2 separate regions of the Homo sapiens genome follow, and region 2 is linked to region 1. The links are contacts of gene promoters, found by promoter capture Hi-C in blood cells and fetal thymus (Javierre and others, 2016). All regions are on one chromosome and are shown on one strand. Each heading gives the region's core, a stretch centred on a gene start or on the middle of the fragment in contact. The rest is flanking DNA. Distances are from core to core; before and after follow the strand shown.

Region 1 (7,199 bases), core at 4,195-6,694:
ACCTGTAATCCCAATACTTTGGGTGGCTGAGGTGAGAGGATCACTTGAGCCCAAGAGTCGGAGACCAGCCTGGGCAACACAGGGAGACGCTCACTCTACAAAAAATTTAAAAATCAGCCAGGCACATTGGCATGTGCTTGTAGTCCCAGCTGCTACTAGAGAGGCTGAGGTGGGAGGATAGTTTGGGCCTGGTAGGTCAAGGCTGCAGTGAGCCATGATTGTGCCACTGCACAGAGAAAGATCCTGACTCAAAAAATTAAAAATAAAAATAAGTAAATAGAACACACACAAAAAAATTTTTTTTTAAAGTGTCTTTTGCAATCAATTTTTCTCTGATCAGTGCTTTCAATGTATCTTGATTCTGATACATAGTGTTTTCAATGTCGTTTTTAAGTTTCTCCTTTTCTTTAGGAGTTATTAGGAGGTTTTAAAAATTCCAGGTAGATGAACCTTTCTGGTTTTTTGTTTTTATTTGTAAATCTAGTTTTATTGCATTTTGGTCAGAAATTATTTATTGTAATATTTCTGCTTTATGGAAATTGCCAGTATTTTCTTTGTGACCTACTATAGGATCAGCATTTATAACTGTGCTGTGATTGCTTAGATGTATATTCTCCATAATCAAGGTCTAAAGTTTGATATATATCCATGAGATTTACTGTATTTATTATGTTGCTTAGATCTTCTGTTTCTTATTTTTTGTAAATAAGTGATCTGTTTTGTACTAAGGTTATACTAAGAGTTGTATATTAAAATCTACTGTGTCCTGTGTTTCCATGTATCTCCTGTAGTTTTTGCTTCAGAAGGGTGGTTGCTCTGCTTTTTGCTATGTAAATATCATGATTATTACTTATTCATTTTGGATTATGGCCTTTATTATATTAAAAATGTCCTCATTTGTCATGTTCAGTGCTCTGGACTAAAGACTTAAAGTCTTTAAGATATAAAGACTTTAAAAACATATTTATGAGACCTTCCTGATAACTCCTACCACTCCTATCTTCAATACCTATGATGATCATTCCATAATAGCAAGCAGCTTTAATTAGGATGTACTTTCATGGGAGCTACTAGAAGCTGTGATATACCTAGTGTATACCATTTCCAATCCAAAAAGAAGGAAGAAAAAAAAGTGGCAACTGGATGGTCATCACTCGGAATTTATACTGAATGTTGTGGCTTTTGCTTTTAAAAATTTTACCAACTAAGCTGTATAGCAAATCATCTGCATGCACTGTACATTTAAACTAAAATAGAACCTTATTTCCTTACAGCATTTTGCTGTGTTTTATTTAGAATAGGTACTTCTTTTGAAAGGATTAATTAAACTCTATCTAATTACCCAAGGCAGTGGTATCACACTGGCTCTGAAGAGGAGTACGAAGGAGTGAAAGAGACCTTTCCACCTAATCTTGTATACCTTTTTAAATTTGGGACCATGTCTATGTATTTCATCTAAAAACCACATTTACACACATGCATGTAAAATATAACTAAACTCCATAACTTGAAACATGATGTATTAGGTGCAGGAATCTACCCTCTTACTGAAAAAATAAAATTATTGGGTAAAATACTAAAAAACATACCTTGAATGCATTTCTTAACTAATGACTATTAGCCAACCAACATTTCTTTTAGTAGGAAAGTAAGAAAAGCTCAGATCAAAGATCAAATGATAGCAGGAACTCAGAGGGGAACTGACCTTATCCTGAAGATATTTGTCTAACTAGGTGAACCTAAACATTGCATTCACAACCCTATGGGGCTAGGGACAGAAGACAAATCCTAGGGTTTATCCAAAATAAATAGTCTAATAGATCTTCTTCCATAAAGTTGATCTACTTTCTCAGTAAAAGAGCAAACTAAAAATAACCTCCCCACTAGCTTGCTCAGCCCCAGGAAATAACTTGGGTGCTGAATTAAGGAGGAAAAAAATCTTTCCTTAGAATTCATAACCAAAATACAGCCTTTATTGCAGATTATAGCTGGAATTCACAATATTTCGAAGGCAAAAAAAAAGTTAAGCTGAGGATTTAGTATAATTAGTGCATGAACTATAGTGCTCTGTTGTCTATTAGAAGCAAATATTTTGTAGGGAGTTGTCCATCTCACACCTCAACATGTTTTGCACAGCCAAAGTTCCAAGGAAAATGAAGGGCTACCTCATAGTAAAGAAAAACATTACATACACAGGGGAACAAGGTATCAGCAGAAACAGCAATCAGACACAGAATATAAAATGTTTAATGTTTCAATAAAGGAGAGGCTTGAAAATGAATGAAGATGTTGAGTGGAAAAAGTCACAGAAAAACACCTACAGTACGATTCCATTTATATAAAGATATCTATCAAACAGATAAAACCAAACAATATACTTTGTGGGAGAGCAATACACAAACGCTTAAAACAAAACTGTAAAGAAAGGAGTGATAATAGAATTCAGGATAGTGGTCCCTTTTTGGGGGAGGAGAGGGTTGTGATCAGAAAGGGGCATATTGGAGGTGTGGTAATATTTTGTTTCTTAACCTGGGTGTAGGAACATGAGCATTTACTTTGTTTTTAAATGGTATATTTTCACATGTTCTTGAACATATGCTAAATTTCTAACAAAAAGGAACTATGTAATAAACATGTAATATATAAAATCTATGTTGATTAATTTTTCTTAAATATTTGAAATGAATTATTTGAAGTACTCTGATAGTGAGAACTATAAGATTTAAGAAAAATTAGAGTATTTCAAGTATTTAACAAAGCTTATGGTTTAAGGAAACTTCTTTTCTACTGATATGATGAAACAATTTTCTTCTCCATGCTTCACAGCAAAAGCATTAATTTTGGGTTGTTATTAATCTTCCTTTTTTTCTACTTTGCAGCAAGATGAGAAGATGAAGTGAATTTATGGATTCTGGTTTTTCTGAATTTTCAAAGCATAAGGAATCAAAACAGAAATATAGTATCAAGAAGATGAAATGCTTAATGAAAAGGTTTTTTTTTTGTTTCTTTGGCCTTTCATGGAGTGTTGATTTGTCCATTCTTAATGTTTATTAATAGGTATATGTGCATAAAATAGCTATTTTGTAACATTAAACTTTTTGAGTCATTTTGGTCATCATATAACTTACCTTCCTGTTTATTTAAGCTTCTTTTTACCTAGTAGCCTTTAACCAAACAATAACCTTTTAACCAAATAAAATGTGTTAATAAATACCTTTGCATTGGTTATCTTGTATACTAGGCTGTCTTGTTTTGCTGTCTGTTTTTAACCCATTCAATATATGTGGACATCCAAAAGGGTTTAAAAGCCACCTCCTGCCCTGGCCCGTTTTCTCTCCCTTCATTCTTCTGTTTTCAGAAATACATGTTGAATGTCAGCTTCTGTATTATTTCTATTATATGTAATCTGATGACTTAGAGGAGGAGATTAACCTTTCAGGCTCTTTTGAATTTGGTTTTTATAATTTGGTTTTAAAGATCACTTACTCTTCCAGTAATAAGTAGTAATAAATCCTGTTCATATCTGAGATCAATACACAGTTTATTGAATTCAAATGACTACTCAAACTCTATTCCACCTAGATGGAAAACTTTTTTAGACAATATCTGACCACTAACGCGGTGGGCCCAGAAATCTGCATCTTAATCAGATGCTTCAGGTGAGTCCGTCCGAGGATTGTCCTAGTACCACACTTTGAGAGACTGCAGTGGGGGTACAGAGTGCTGGAGGGGTTTAGTCAATAGCTCTAGTGAAGGATGGATAGTTTTATTCAAAGAATCCCAGTTGATGAATGAAGAAGAAATGCTAGAATTAGAAAAATTGCAAACCCCTATTAAAACTACCGCTCAGGCAATGCTCAACAATGGATGTAAAACAATTAGGTGAAATGTTGATGGAGAAATTCATTACAAAGGAATAGCCCTCTGAACCCACTGATCAATGTTAGCATCATTACGAATGAAACAACCAGACACCATATGCTTCCTGCTGTGCTGCAATATTAATTATATGGTACCACCTATGAAGTGTTCTTGCCCTCTCCCCCCCAAAAAATTGAACCTGAATTTAATCAAAGCTTTAGATCTAATATTTAGTGCATAGGAAATAAGTAGAGTAGAAAAACAATACCAGGGAGAAGCAATTAGCCACATTCAAAAAATGGTTCATTTCAATAGAACAACTGACCTGGTTTCTTTTTCAATGTGTTAATAGTGTTAAAAAGTCTGTTTTAGATCAAAAGAGACTGATGAGACCACATGCAAATACATTGCACAGCTCTTGTTTGATTCAAAGAAGTCAAGTGTAAAAGACATTTTTTAGACACGTGAAATGGTGTTGCGGCTGACTAAAAGGATGTGTATGTGTGTTTTTGAAGTATTTAGGGCTAAAATATGTCCAGGATTGGCTTTTAAATACTACAAAAAATGGAGTATGCCAAAACGTTGACCATTGTTAAAGCTCAGTGAAGGGCAGGTAGATGCCAATTGCACTCTTCACTTTTATGTGCAAAGTTTGGAAAATTTCACAATAAAATTTTTGTGTTTACATAAATGAAATAACATGGGAAAATGTTCTAAGGTATGGCAAGTGAAAAAAGCCTGGAAAATAACTAGTTTGTCCCACTTAAGTTTTTAAAGGTGTTAAAAGTACATGTTTCAAAAAGTAAGGATAGACTAAAAAAGTGAACGGTGGTAAGTTCTAAGTTGTGGGCTTACAGGTGTTCTTTATTTTTATGCTTTGCTGTATTTTCCAAGTTTTTTTTTTTAAGTTTTCCAAGATGTTTTACATCTCTGTTCTTATTTACCAGATAAACTTTGTGGTTAGTTACTGGATAAACTGTAAATAGTGATAAAATTTTTAAGTTTATATCAAGATAGCACTTCATTTTAAAACCAGTAATTATTAGGTTGGTGCAAAATTAATTGCAGTTGTTGCCATTGGAAGTGATGGTAAAAACCGCAATTACTTTTGCACCAACCTTATATTTCTAAAAGATCAAGTTGTAAACCTATTTGTTTTCCCTAAGATCCGCTCTTGCAGAGTTGGAATAAATATGATTGTTTACACTTAAGAGTCCAGGACTACAGCAGGCCTGGTTGGAGGGGAGTTACTAATGTTCCCAGACTTAAATCCAGCTGGAACACCACCTAAAATATGCAGTAACATAAGACCATCAAAAGCAATGTCCCAGGACTTACAATGTTTGCTAAGACGCAAGAGGGTGTGACACAGACGCTAAGCGCCACTGGCGAGGAGATGAAGGGGTCGTCTTCATCTTCGCCGGATGATTTCCGCCCACATAGAGGGCGCCAGTGACGCCCACACACGTGCTGGTGTCCCGGGAAGAGTTCCTGGCAAAGAGCTCAGGAACGTTGGATCTTAATCAAGGCTTTCTCCGTCGGGGTGGATGGGTTGGACTTTAGGCTCCAGCAAGCCCCGCCCCACTCGGCGGGTCGGTGCCGCCGGGTCCCAGGTGCCCGCTACTTCCCAGAACCTCCGCCTCCCGCTCCGGGCCCTCGAACCAGCGCGGACACCACAATGGACCGGGCGTCCGAGCTGCTCTTCTACGTGAACGGCCGCAAGGTGAGCGCCCGCGGGCTTCCTCTGCCCCCAGACCTGCGGCCAGGGCCGGGGCAGAGAGGAGCCCCTGCCGTTCGTCCCATCCTTTCGTGCCCGCCGTTTAAGGCACTCAGGCACGGACTGGCTTTCTCCCGTAACAGCGGCTTTGCCTTCGCATTCCCACCCCTGCCTCCGGGGCAGCTAAAGGCTGCGTTTTCAGGGACTGTCCTGGATCTTTGGGCCCCCACCTTCCTTATGTTCCCCTTTCCTCTCCTTCCAAGGCTCACAAGCTGATTTCCAACCACACGCCCTCCCTAAACAGTAAGATAAAAAGTATTCTTGCCCATCAGGGGTCAGCACTCCCAGATCTTCGTTCCCTCAATCCCAGCCGATAACGGGAACGTCCCCAGTACACTGAGAGCAGCCTACAGAAATGGCTGAGCCTCAGCTCGCGGGGTGCGTTTGGAAGCGCAGAGAGCAACTTAGATTCGGGACAAGACCGTAGAGACGAACACATTCAAACCACCCCCATCGTTTCTCAGATGAAGAAATCGTTACTTTCCAAAGTCACAGCTAGTTCCTGGCAGAGCTGAACCCAAGTCAGGCTCTGGGGGCTCCAAGGTCCTCACGGGTTCCACTGCTGGGTGCGGGCTCTGTCGCCTCAGAAGCTGGGCTCGCTCTGCGCAACCCGAGGGACAGTTCCAGGCAGTGTCCGATGTTTGGGAGAAGCAAAGCCCCCTGGGCATCCTTTAAAACACCCCCCTTAATGTGAGCATCAACTCTGCTCACTCTTAATGTTCCAGTTTCATTGACATTACTCTGAAGGAGGAAACTGAGGCAGGAAGGTTAAGGAGCTCCCTTGAGAGCTGTGGCTCACGCCTGTAATCTGCACTTTGGGAGACCGAGGCAGGAGGATTGCTTGAGCCCAGGAGTTCGAGTTTAGCCTGGGCAACATGGCGAAACCTTGTCTCTACAAAAAAAAAACCAAACAAAACAAAACAACAACAACAAAAAAAAACCGGTGTGGTGGTGCGTGCCTGCAGCCCAGCTACTGGGGAGGGTGAAGGAGGATTGCTTGAGTCTAGGAGTTCAAGGTTACAGTGAGCTGTGATCACACCACTGCACTCCAGCTTGGACAAAAGAGTGAGATCCTATTTCTTAAAAACAACAAAAACAGAGCTAACAACCAAGCAAGAGCAGTGGCACCTGATTTCCCTGGTGCTCGTGTTGGTGCCGGTTCATTCAGAGCCACCTGTGACCACTGCTTCTGGCTAAGGGCAGCCACAACACTTTTCCCGACGGGCACCAGCTGCCTCCCCTGGAAGCTAACCAGTGTGAAGCACCAGGCCCTAGTTGTGAGGCCTGTTCTAAGACCCTGAGCCTAATTTCATTTGTGGTTTTGTATTATGTTTCTTAAAGAGGATCCCCCAAATTGTACATTAGGCCCCTCAAAAACTTTGTCTGCCCCTGCTGCCTGGGTTCTACATTGGATAAGATGAGCTAGTTTTTCCTGATCTGTAAGGGTCATTAGGACCCCTTCACAGGACTGCTGTGAGGGTGAAATATGACAATGGGGTGAGATGATTGACATTATGTCATTTTTTTCTTCTTTTGCATAATAGAATGGTATAGTAAACAC
Region 2 (7,199 bases), core at 1-2,500, 100 kb after region 1:
ATATGATTTGGGGGGAAGGAGTGATGCGAGACCTACCTATAAACAAGGGAGACCTGTCAGGGCAGAGATGTCAGGGGTCTTTGGGTCAAAACATTGTGTATTTCCTTCTTCCCAGGTAATTTATGCTGCTGTACTGGACAGAGACCCATTGTGGATAGTGGGAAAAGTTTCAGTCTTGTGAGTATGAAACAACTGATAGCTGCAGAGCCAACAGTTCTGGATTAAGTCACAAATCATCATGTGCATTATGCAGGATTGGTTTTCAAGGAAAGCACAATATTGTGTCTTAGAGAAAAATGGTTCACATTTTACCCAACTCAGTGATGGTAACTAGGTATTTTTCTCAGAAACACAGACAGGTGGCACCTCAATGGCTTTTTGAAACTGAAGTTTATAAAATAGCATATTTCAAGTGAAAACGAATTAGGCCATCTTCCTTACATCTTGTTTTGTTGATAGGAAAACAGTCTATTTCTCATGCTGCCATTTCAGCAGCACTTTTTGTTGAGTCACCACCAAAGTTAAACATTTTTGTGAAATAAATCCCTATGTCCTCTTGGAATGTGCTTCCATCTTTGATTAGTACTCATGGTAGATGGGGAAGAGAGAAGGAACATTTTCATCTTTTATGCTGCGTGGAATCAGTAGCCATTCAGCAATGTGTAGCAATCATAGAGCATTAGATTCAGACCTTCCTCTGCCCACTTCCTCCACATCCCACGCTCTGAAAAACACATAATTTCTCCACACTCTCACACAAACACTTCTGACACCAGATGTGTGTGGTTTTTTTCCACACCAACAAATTCTCCAATCTCCAGACACCAGCTGGTATCCTACAGTTTAATCCAATTCTGACCCTATCTACCAGGAGTTAGTGGCAGCTCCCACAAATTAAGGGCTCAGTCTCACAAGATCCCCTACATCACATGCCAATCGCAAGTCTGGGCCTCCTATATTTCTAACCTACCAGCTATAAATTGGAGGTTCCCACGAACTCCTCCTTGGGTTTGGTAATTTGCTAGAATGGCTCACAGAACTCAGGTAAACACTTTACTTAACATTTACTGGTTTATTATAAAGATATTGTCAAGGACACAGAAGAATGCACTATGAAAGGTACATAAAGCAAGGTCCAGAAGGGTCCTGGGTGTAGGAGCTCCTGTCTCGGTGGAGTTGAGGTGCACCAGCCTCCTGTCATGTGGATGCATTCACCAACCCAGAAGGTCATAAATCTCCTTGTTCAAGGGTTTGTATAGAGCTTTATCTCCATCCCCGCTGTTCCCTCAGAGACAGGTGGGTGGAAGACCCTCCAATCACTTGGTCTCTCTGCTCACCAGAGTCATCCTGAGGCCATCCACGTAGGGGCCCTATCCTAAGATGTCTCATTAGCATAAACTCAGATGTGACCCAGAGGCTTGTCATGAATAACAAAAGACACCCCTATAACTCAGAAAATTCCAAGTGTTTTGAAAGCTCTGTGCCAACAACCAACTGGGGACAAAGACCAAATTTTTTTTATTATACTTAACTGAAAAAAAAAACAACCCTATAGGAAGTAGCTAAGAAAGACTATATGGAATCATTAATTTTAAAAATACAAACTTTTTATTGAAAAGATACATTACAAACTGCAGAGATTATATACCCAGAGATGTTTAGATTCCTATATTGTTAAAAGAATGTGGAAAAGTGAGAAAGAGAATAACAAAGGGGACATGCAAATAATACAACTATGGGCTCCATAAGACGTTTTGGCCAATGAAAGGCAGCATATATGATGGTGGTCCCATAAGATTATAATACTGTATTTTTACTGTGCCTTTTCTATGTTTAAACACACAAATACTTACCATCACATTACAATTGCCTACAGTATTCAGGATACTACCATGCTGTACAGGTTTGCAGCCTAGGAACAATAGGCTGTACCATCCAGCCTCGCTGTGTAGTAGGCTCTACCATGGAAGTTTGCATAAGTACATTCTATGACCCCACAATGACAAAATCACCTAACACATTTCTCTGAACATATCCCTATCCTGAAGCAACACATGACTGTATGTCTAAAAGAAAGGTTAAAGAATAGAGACTAGAGAGCCATGTAAACAAAATTGACATGAATAATTGATGTCAAATAATTATTATTCTGCATAGCAGTTATAAATATTATGACAACTAACTACCTGAGCTGGAGAAGTAAGACAAATTACAATGAGATCTATTTGTTTATTTGATCATTTTTCAATTCAATTCAATTCATTCATTCATAATTTGAAATTATTTGGTACCTTCCATCATCACCTATACAGTCAGCCCTTCTTATCTGTGGGTTCCACATCCTTGGATTCAACCAGCCACAGATCAAACATATGTAAGAAAAAAATAACAATAACCATACAAGGCCAGGTGCAGTGGCTCACGCCTGTAATTCTAGCTTTTTGGGAGGTCTTGGCAAGTGGTTCACTTGAGCTCAGGAGTTTGAGAGTAGCCTGGGCAACATGGTGAAACCCCATCTCTACAAAAAAATAGCCAGGCATGGTGGCATGCACCTGTAGTCCCAGTTACTTGTGAGGCTGAGGTGGGAGGATCGCTTCAGCCAGAGAGACGGAGGTTGCAGTAGGCTGTGATCATGCCACTGCACTCCAGCCTGGGCAACAGAGTAAGATTCTGTCAAAAAAAAAAACTGTAAAATAATACAGTATAACAACTGTTTACATAACATTTCCATTGTATTAGGTAGTAAAAGGAATCTAGAGATTATTTAAAGTATTCAGGAGGATGTGTGTAGGTTACATGAAAATACTATTCCATTTTATATAGGACACTTGAGCATCTGCAGATTTTGGTATCTGTGAGTGGTCCTGGAACCAATCCCCCACAGATACTGAGGGATGATTGTATTTCATTTCCAGTTTCCCTGTGGCTTTAAAGATTATTTGAATCTATTTTATTGGCTAGATCACTGGGTCAGATAAGCATGGAGAAAAGACCAATGCTAGATTCCCAGACTGAAATAAATGGAGGGGCCATAGCTTCTCCACTGAAGAATTCTTCAGTGGAGCCAAATCCCTGTGACTTGGTGGCAACTCAGTGGATATCGTTCTAACTTAGGAGGCGCCAGGGGCACCAGGGTTTTCAGTCCTCCCTGGGGTAACCTGCTCCCTGCTCCTCCCTAGTCTCTGAACCATAGCACACCACCACTGCTGCCACCACCACCACCATAATCATCATCATCATCATCACCTCTAGTGGTATTTTACAACTCCAGGATTCTCTGATTTTTCCATTCTTGTTTTCTTCTATAGAGTTCATTTTGCTGCCAAATGAATGGGGAAGGTAAATGTTGCTTGGATCAAGAGAAAAGCAGGCCCTAAGAACAAAGCAAGTATAAGTCTTTCTTTTTCTGCCCTCTTTTACCTGTTTTATGACCATGAACTCCATTATCAGAATGCATAGCCTCAAATTCTGATTCCACTATCATGGAAACCTTTTTTAAACCTTTGTTTCTCTATCTGTAAAATGGGATTATGACTATAAAGTGTAAATTATATCATGTCTGTAAAACACAAAATATCATGCTGACCACATACTGTCTGGCCTCTGCGCAGCCCTTTGATCTATTTCGATGAACCCCTGACTATTGGGGCTTGGGGTGTTGGTGCAAGAGGCTTTTGGAGTTCTAAGAACAATTATCTTTCTCTCAGTCCTTCTATTCCTTTCCTTCCGTTTTCCCCCAATCGCTGCAAACCCAAGTCTATCTGGGAGAAAAGGACCCCACATACAGGGCCTGCAAGATATAGTAATTATTCAAACATGGCACCAGCATGGTGACACCAGCCTTGGCAAGATGGAACCTAGCTTGAATCCTAGCTCTGTAACTTTCCAGCTCCAGTTTAATTTCCTCCTTGGTATAACTGGGATAATATTTCAAGGAAATTGTTGGGAAGGCTAAATCATAGACATAAATGAGGTGCTGAAAGTTCCAAGTACAGTGACTGCACATAATAATTGCTTATTGAATGCCAGTTTTTCCTGGTAACTGATGTTCAGAATTGTCCTTAGAGCCAACTTTGGCAAGAGATGGCTCACAAAAGCTGTAGAAATTAGAAAATGTCCAAGAAATTTAAAATTTCTGTGTATACATTCTTTGACCCAGCAATTTCACCACCAGGAATCTACTCTAGGGGAGTAATTGAAGGTAAGTCAAATATTTATTATATACATAGATATTTGTCACAATGTTACTTATAATTACAAAAAAATTAGAGATAAACTAAATGTCCAACAATAGGGGATTGCTTAAGTATTTCATGGCATAACCATGTGATTGGAATTTATACTATCTTGGAAAATCTCTTTTGTGCAATATTTAAAGAATTTGAAAATAAAAATGGTTTGAAGTGAAAAAATTTAAAAATTGAGCACTCTGATACCAGATTTATAGAAAAAATGTATAAGCATAGTATAATCTCATATATACAGAGCAATTATAAAGAGTGGACGGAAATACACATAACATTGATAGTGGTTATCTCTACTTCATATGAAGTAATTTTATTCCCTTCTGTAGATTTTTCAGCAATTCTACATGATGTTTTTACATGAACATGCATTAATTTTATAATCATATGCAAAAAAAGTTTAAACAAAAAGAAATTCCTATGGATGGTACAGTAATTACAGCAGAAATACAATTCCCTCTAGAATCCAAATTTGCTTGATTCCTAGTTATATTTGAAAGGGTAGGGGGGACTTTAAAGACTGGTATAGACTGTTTACCCAGTGGACATCAAATATCACGGCCTGGAGTTACAGGAGGGTCAGGCCTCCCCCCAGCATTTGCAAGCGCAAAGCAAGAATATAAGGAGAAGACATCTCATTCTCTTCTCTTCCCACCCCAGTTCTGTTCCACATTGCTGGCATCACAGATTGAACACCCAACTCACCTGTCCAAGCTCCATCCATTCCCCAAACAGCTGCCCCTTGGCCACAGCTCAGGCCTAGGGGTGAGCTTCTAGATGGGTATCTGTCCTCTCTGGGAGGAGAGACTGCAGCAGAGGCCCACGTGGGCTGTGGAAGTAGATTTCGGGCCTTTTGGGAAGGAAATTCTGAGGCCATGAGTGCCAACAGCCTGTGGCTCAGCGATGGGGTACAGGCTGTTGGTGGAATGTCCCTTAACCCTGGGGTCTCCTTGCTCCTTGGAGATGGGCATGGTGACAGGGGGCCCAGCAACCTAGGGCCAAAGGGCAATACTGGGAATGGGCTCCTGGAAGCAACATTTGATGCCTCTGACACCAATAGAAATGTAAATAAGAACAAACTCCAGGATGGGGGCCTCATCTCTCAGAGGCATAAAAAATGACATTACAAAAAAACCTAGTATGGTACTTAATTTAAACATTACTCATTCTTCAGCTATTATTTTCCCTACTTCACCTCCCTGCAACGCATCAACTAATCATGCTGAAGTCCCAATAGAACTGGTAAACTGTACCAGCTGACAGTCAGAGCTGGCTTGGGAGGTTCTCGGCAGATCTGTTAGAAGCCATTTCTTACTTTAAGCTGAGATCTGCTGTCCTGCCACTTCCACATATGGGCTAACCCTGGGTAGACCTGTCCCTCATCTATGAGACAGCCCTTCCCATAGATGCAGCTGCTTTCATTCCCACTCGCTCTCTGCATTCATCCTCCCTGTTTCCTTTGTAGCTAAATTATCTGCATGCACTTTCTTCACCTAATGACTCATCCATTCCTGAGACTCCAGGTGACATCTCCATATGTTTTCTGAATCCATTTCTACTTCTGCTCTCTTTTCTGACCCTTCCCTTACATACCTGGTTCTGAGTTCATCGTAACCCTCACCTTACTCCACTAAACAACTCTCTCCTGACTTCCATATTAATGCTATTGGTACCCTTTTGCTTTTTCTCCCCTAGAGCCAAGGCTTGATGCTGGGCTCATGTAGCGGTCTGCAGGCTCATCTGTCCCTTGTCCTCTGCACTTGCACTCCCTGAGTCCAGACCATCTTCAATTACACTGCAATTATTACAACAGATTCTCTATACGGTCACCTTCCTTCCAACACCTCCCATGCAACCTAACTCATAGCAGGGTCTCAAATTTCCCAGAATTGCTTAGGAAGCTTCTTCAAGATGTTTTTGCCTGAGATTCCCCTCCATTTTACTGGATTAGAACCACCTGTAGTATGGCCCAGGACAAGCTCTGAACTTTTACAAACCTCCCCAGGTCATGGATGCGACCAGTCAGCAGGCCTGGAATTGGGAACTACTACATACCACAGTCAAATTCATCTTCTAGAAATATTGGTTCAGAAACTCAGAGTAACTCTCCCAGGCCCCAGAATTCTGTCTCAAATCTGAGGCCTGCTTTGAAGACTTTCCACAGTCCTGTCTGCCTCTCCCCAGTCTCCTACTAGCCTCCCCTGTGTCGCCAAGAGGATCTGCTTGACTTCTTTCTACACCCAGGGAACAGCTTCCCATCTGATTCTGTGCTGGTTCCATTCCCTGTCCTCTCCCTCCTCCCTCCCTTGCTCCTGAGGGATGGGAATGGTGAGAGAGGGCCACAGGACCCAGTGACCCAGGGTCTAAGGGCAATACCAGGAATGGCCTCCTTGAAGCAACGCTGGATGCTTCTGACACCAATAGAAAAGTAAGTAAGAACAAGCTCCCCCGGAGGAGCCTCTGCAGCCCTTTACTCCCTGGCTTCCTGGGGAGCTTGTGTTTGTACCACTCCTTGATGCTCAGCTCCTGCCACCCCTCCTTGCAGTTCATCTGTCTCCAGCTGCCAGTACAGAGCAGCTACTTAACAGCTGCCAGTTTCCTTCCGCTCCTCCCACCCCCGGCCTTCTCCAGCCAGAATGCAATTGCAGGGCTGGGCTGTCTCTCAGCACCCTGTGTCCCCAGTACCCAGTCCAGGCCCACCAGAGAGGAGAAACTCAACAGTAGGCTGTTAACAATCATGACACTCATCAAACTTTGACTTTGTTTTTACTGAAAAATTGAAACATTAATTTTTTCCCTTATGATTTGTACCAAATCGTATAAGAAAGAAGAATGTCAGCCTGTAGACCCAACCCAGGAACTTGCTATTTCCATCTGAACTAACGGTTATGTTCTTTCTTTTGATTTACTTCTGCTTTTATGCCAACTGCGAGGGAATAAACAGTCTCATCAGCC

What was found. The method cuts DNA at HindIII sites, captures the fragments that hold promoters and counts their contacts. A CHiCAGO score of 5 or more calls a contact.
Region 2: a fragment that was not itself captured here is called in contact with the fragment with the promoter of AOX1 in region 1 in 2 of 17 cell types (M2 macrophages and endothelial precursors); the score reaches 5.5 in M2 macrophages.

The regions. Positions count from the first base shown.
Region 1 is chr2:200,580,570-200,587,768 of GRCh38, forward strand. It overlaps AOX1 (aldehyde oxidase 1), which reads left to right and starts at 5,445. Exons shown (of 35, transcript NM_001159.4): 1 at 5,445-5,584. The coding sequence starts at 5,540. It overlaps SGO2 (shugoshin 2), which reads left to right. Exons shown (of 9, transcript NM_152524.6): 9 at 2,880-3,527. The coding sequence ends at 2,895. The HindIII fragment of the contact is 4,080 bases long and covers 4,075-7,199 here.
Region 2 is chr2:200,688,564-200,695,762 of GRCh38, forward strand. It overlaps the pseudogene AOX3P-AOX2P and the pseudogene AOX3P. Among named protein-coding and RNA genes, the nearest start is that of LINC01792, 43 kb to the right of the region's middle. The HindIII fragment of the contact is 9,786 bases long and covers 1-6,143 here.